2 separate regions of the Homo sapiens genome follow, and region 2 is linked to region 1. The links are contacts of gene promoters, found by promoter capture Hi-C in human tissues and cell types (Jung and others, 2019). All regions are on one chromosome and are shown on one strand. Each heading gives the region's core, a stretch centred on a gene start or on the middle of the fragment in contact. The rest is flanking DNA. Distances are from core to core; before and after follow the strand shown. Region 1 holds the start of ICMT (isoprenylcysteine carboxyl methyltransferase). Region 2 overlaps CAMTA1 (calmodulin binding transcription activator 1).

Region 1 (2,627 bases), core at 57-2,556:
TGGCCAACACAGTGAGACCCTGTGTCTAAAAAAGAAAAAAAGAAAAAAAAAAGGTACATATATAGTCGGCGTTATACCATTTTGGCTGATAGCTTGATCATTTTCCCAGGCTCAGATACCTGCCCTTTTTCCCCAAGTGAAGTCAGGATCACACCGAAAAGCTTTGCCTCCTGCTATTTAAAAACCTAATATAGGCAGGGCGCGGTGGCTCACGTCTGTAATCTCAGCACTTTGGGAGGCCGAAGCGGGCGGATCACGAAGTCAGGAGATGGATCCCGGCTAACACGGTGAAACCCCGTCTCTACTAAAAATACAAAAAAATAAGACGGGCGCAGTGGCGGGCGCCTGTAGTCCCAGCTACTCGGGAGGCTGAGACAGGAGAATGGCGTGAACCCGGGAGGCGGAGCTTGCAGTGAGCCGAGATCGCACCACTGCACTCCAGCCTGGGCGACAGAGCGAGACTCCGTCTCAAAAAAAAAAGAAAACCTAACATATCCTGAGCATTCCCATCACCGTCCAGCCTTGTTCCACAACAGGAATTTAAGCGGGCGGTGGTCCCGTTGCATGGATGCCCAGGTGCCGTTGTCCAGGCCGGTTTCCAGGGAGCCGCAGAGGGAGGGCAGGAGGTCGCCGCACTTGGCCCCGCGCCCCAGGGCGTCTGGTTTTCGGGGACGACGCAGGGCCGGCGAGGGTGCGGCCGTTTCAAAATTTTTTTTTTTGAGATGGAGTGTCACTCTGTCACCCAGGCTGGAGTGCAGTGACACAATCTCGGCTCACTGCAACCTCCGTCTCCCCGGATCAAGCGATTCTCCTGCCTCAGCCTCACCAAGTAGCTGGGGTTAAAGGCGTGCGCCACCACGCCCAGCTAATTTTTGTATTTTTAGTATAGACGGCGTTTCCCCATGTTGCCCAGGTTGGTCTCGAACTCCTGACCTCAAATGATTCGCCAGCCTCGGCCTCCCAAAGTGCTGGGATTACAGGCGTGAGCCACCGCGCTCGGCTCGTTTCAAACTTTACATTGCTTCTTGGGACAGGAACCTCCTGAGTTTGGGACTAAGTTTGGACAGACGCGGGCGGCGACTTCTCCCACCACTTCCCGGCCCCCGCCCGGCACAGAGTCTGGCTCAGAGCCCGGATGTCCCCGAGGGGCGGGGAGGGGCGGGCGGGCGGGGCGCTCCCGCCAAATTCCGGACAGCAACAGGGCGGGCCGGAGTTCTCGCGAGAACTGGCAGGCGGCGCGCAGCTGCGGGCAGCTGCCCTTCCCGGGCCGGCATCGGCGGCACAGTGCGCAGGCGCAGCCGGCGCGTTTCTCCGGGCTACAGCCGGCGCCGCCGCCCGCTAGTCCGCCGCCCGGCGCCATGGCGGGCTGCGCGGCGCGGGCTCCGCCGGGCTCTGAGGCGCGTCTCAGCCTCGCCACCTTCCTGCTGGGCGCCTCGGTGCTCGCGCTGCCGCTGCTCACGCGCGCCGGCCTGCAGGGCCGCACCGGGCTGGCGCTCTACGTGGCCGGGCTCAACGCGCTGCTGCTGCTGCTCTATCGGCCGCCTCGCTACCAGGTGCAGGCCGGCGGGGGCCGGCGGGGGCCGGCGGGGCGGGCGGCGGTCCGCTTGGCGCGGCGCGTGGGCACCTTTCTCCCCGGGCCCGCAGTGGCCTCCCACGCGCGCGCTCTTCATCCGCGAGTTCAGGTCGCAGGAGGGGACCCTCTCTCTCCGGGCTCGGGCGCCCTGCACCCGAGGAGTGGGTTGTTAAATTGCAGCTTGTGCAGCTCAGCAGGTGCGCGTGGGGTGGAGTGAGCGAGCCCGCGAGTGCTTTTATGTAACTTAAGGTGCAGAGACCTACCTGCTGCCCTGTCTCAGGTCAAAGGCCCCGCAGTGACGTGGGTGGGGCTGGGCGCACAGGCCCGGGTGCCCTGACCTCATAAACTAGGCTTAAGCAGTTTTCCTACAGCCCTGAATAGTAATCACGAATAATAATAATAATGACAGCTAAAATGTAGGTAGCAGTTAGTCTTAAGTGTTTTACGTGGGTAATCCTTACTGCAGTCCTAAAAGGTAGGTACTGTTATCCCCTGGCTGTAGATGGGGAAGCAAGCTCAGAGAGGTTAAATAATTTGGGAGGCCACACAGCCAGAGAGCGGTGGGTGCAGAATTTGAACCCAGGTCGCCCACTTCTCCCTTTCAACCTCAGCAAATCGGCTCTATCTGCTTGCCTGTGGGTTGCCTATTCCGGGAAGGTCAGCAGCCCAGATCTGTACTCTGAGGACTGTGAATGACTGAGCTTCTCTTGGGTTCCTTTCAGATAGCCATCCGAGCTTGTTTCCTGGGGTTTGTGTTCGGCTGCGGCACGCTGCTAAGTTTTAGCCAGTCTTCTTGGAGTCACTTTGGCTGGTAAGAATTCCTTCGGAAATACTGGTTTTCAGGCGAGGGTGGACAGATCAGAGGGTCTGTAGCGGCATTTCCTCATCCCTGTCTCATCTGTGACCGGCAGAAGGCTGTTCAGGGTTCTCTGGAAACGAAGTCTCCTGGCTTCCCCCTAGTTGCTCACATTTCAGCCCTTGTGATTTCGTGCCTGTGGGTTGATTGTGAATCAGGCAGAAACAGATCTCCCTGGCACCCCCAAAGGTGCTGTCA
Region 2 (2,627 bases), core at 63-2,562, 1.1 Mb before region 1:
GAAACTGCTGACAGCACTGGCTTCAGAGTCAAAGGCGAAGCTCTTGCTCAGAGGCTCAGATGATTTCAACAACATTTTTAGATGTACAAAGTATGTTTCATATAAAGAAATCAAGTCATTGTTTCATATACGATTTTATTATGAAGAAGTAATATCTGCTTAATAAAGAATCCATGAAAACGAAGGAAGCACTAGGCAGGGAATCAGGTCTCCCCACCTCCAGCACATATTTTAAAACAGAATTTTCAGAGACTTTGAATTTTCAGGAAGCAGACCTAGAGAGGGGAAGGTACTTGCTTAAGGTCACACAGCAAGTCAGTGGAGAGGCAAGATGCAAACTCAGGACATCTGACTTCATCATCTTGGCCCCTTAGTCAAAGCAAATAGCCTCCTTAGCTCATTGCTACAAAAGGAAACAGTTGAGTCCAAAACCCTTGGGTCTGGTCGGCAAGGGAAGAGAGAGGAAGGAAGGGTGAAATGTTGGCTGCTCGGGACTGTTCTGTCTTAAACATTTTGGTGATTCTCTTCTGAGCCCATTAGGGACTGACTCACCCACGTGTCTGAAATGGTCCCTGAGTGCGTTCCTGGGGCCCTGGATAAGGAACTGGGAGAGCTTCAGAACCTAACACAATGCCTGGCATTTGCTTAATAAAAGTTTGCTGGATAAACAATTTGGTAAATATATATTACAAAATGTATTGATAAATACCTAATTCCCCCAGAGAGAAGTGGTAAAATTCTAATATACAAGAGACCTTGGTAACCTGGGGCCCTTTAGAAACAAAAATCTAGAATTTCCCCTGTAGCAAATGACCGGAATTCCGCCCCTGTAGATGGTGGAAATGTACTTGTGTAGACAGTCCCAGAAGAGAGGGCTGCATGTGGCAGGTCAGGCAGTATTAAGGGTCCCGTTTCTATTCATGGCTCATGGCCAAGAAAAAGATACTCACTGGCCCTCAGAGTAGAAATACATTCCTGGGGACCCCAGGGGATCCACAGGAACTTGTCAGTGACTTTCATAGAGAGGAAAAGACCTGCGGGGTGGGGGGTGGATCATGCATCTCTGGAGAAGGCTAAAATGACAATGCAGCCCCTACTGTTATACCCAGGGATTCCTGATTTGTTTCTCTGATGCTAATCCTACACCCCGCACAGGAAGGCCACCCTCGTACTCAGCCCTGTAGCTTGCCATCCAAAGGCTTCCCATTGAGTCTTCCTTGAGAATCCTTCCCTGGGAGTCCTCTACAGACAGATACCAGCCTAAAAAGGCAACTGAAAAGAATTTACATGGTCTTTGTTCATTTCAGATTATAAATTGTTTGACTCAATTTTATTTCAACTGAAAGGACTACAAACATATATAGAACTGCCGCTGACAAGGGTGATGAGCTGGTATAGGGAATGGGAAGGAATGGTAAACATTAAACCAAATAGATATTGATTCCTGCCACAATGAAGTGACTAGGATTGGATTTGCCCTCCTGCTGTAAACAATCATGAAACTAGACAAAAATATCTGAGGCTACTCTTTGTAGGGATTGTACAACAGGCAGTTCAGGACTGTGGTTCTGCCAGAAAAAAAACACACAAGATAAGCCCCATGTTTGCCCAGCCTTTTGGCCCATTATGCAGGACGATGGGGCACAGCAGCCTAGATTATAGGAGAAGGCAAAAATCAAGAGTTTGGGGCTGCTAAAGCAGCTAGAACTTACAGGTCTGGGCTCTGGAGAGAAGAATCTTGTGCAGAAAGTAGGCCCTAGAAGTCTGCCTGGAGGTACCCTGTGAGTACTTGGTTGAGGGCAGAACTGCCCACATGCAGGGCAAAACTCCATAGCTGTTATAAGACTGAAAGCTAAGCAGAGATACTAGAAGTCATGCAGAGCTGGCAGAGCTTTGAATTCTGGCCAAGCCAGACGAGAGAACCCTTGCTGAGTACCTTGGGCATTTGTTCCCCAAAAGGCCAGGCCTTAGGAACAAGGACTATACCCTACAGGAAAGGCCAAAGCCTAGGAATAAGGGCAAAATAAAAATGGACCAACTCTAATAAAGATTCAAACCAAGCCTGACCAGACCAAGAGGATCTGCCAGTAATTAACTGACCTGCCAGAACAAAATTCAACACCTTTTATAGAAAACAACATAACCCACACTCCCCTACCACATATCTTCTAAAATATCTAGAATAGAGATATACCATGTTCATGGATTAAAATTGGACTACAGATTTAACAAACTCAAAGAGCTTTTTACTCTTTTTGGGCAGGGAGAAATTATTTTTGCAAAATTAGGACATTTCTGAAAATACAGTTTTGTAGCTTTCTTTTTCCATTTGGTCCTCCATCCCCTCTCACCAAGCATTTGGCACAGCTAACCATTTCCTCCTTCTTGGAAGCCCCTCTTCACCTGGCTTCCAGGTCACCATGCTTTCCTGGTTTTCTTGCCCCCTGTGTCTCCATTTCCTTTGCTGGCTCTCCCTTTTTGTCCAGGCAGCTAAATGTTTTAGGTGTCAGGGGTCTAAGTCTTTAGTCATTTTCTCTCCTTTATACTCTTTCTCTCGGTGGTCATCCGTGATTAATGACTACAAAAGTCTGTATCTCTGGTCTGACTGCTCCCCTGAGCTCCAGACA

Evidence for each region. The method cuts DNA at HindIII sites, captures the fragments that hold promoters and counts their contacts. A contact is called where the count stands out against the background at its distance.
Region 2: a fragment that was not itself captured here is called in contact with the fragment with the promoter of ICMT in region 1 in 1 of the 25 tissues and cell types used here (mesendoderm cells).

What each region holds. Positions count from the first base shown.
Region 1 is chr1:6,234,643-6,237,269 of GRCh38, reverse strand. It overlaps ICMT (isoprenylcysteine carboxyl methyltransferase), which reads left to right and starts at 1,306. Exons shown (of 5, transcript NM_012405.4): 1 at 1,306-1,553; 2 at 2,296-2,384. The coding sequence starts at 1,359. It overlaps ICMT-DT (ICMT divergent transcript), which reads right to left and starts at 1,030. Exons shown (of 5, transcript NR_103534.1): 1 at 934-1,030; 2 at 120-304; 3 at 1-25. RefSeq lists an enhancer at 101-1,073 and silencers at 1,038-1,367, 1,578-1,637. The HindIII fragment of the contact is 11,307 bases long and covers 1-2,627 here.
Region 2 is chr1:7,296,745-7,299,371 of GRCh38, reverse strand. All of the region lies in intron 5 of CAMTA1 (calmodulin binding transcription activator 1), which reads right to left. Among named protein-coding and RNA genes, the nearest start is that of CAMTA1-IT1, 66 kb to the left of the region's middle. The HindIII fragment of the contact is 6,022 bases long and covers 1-2,627 here.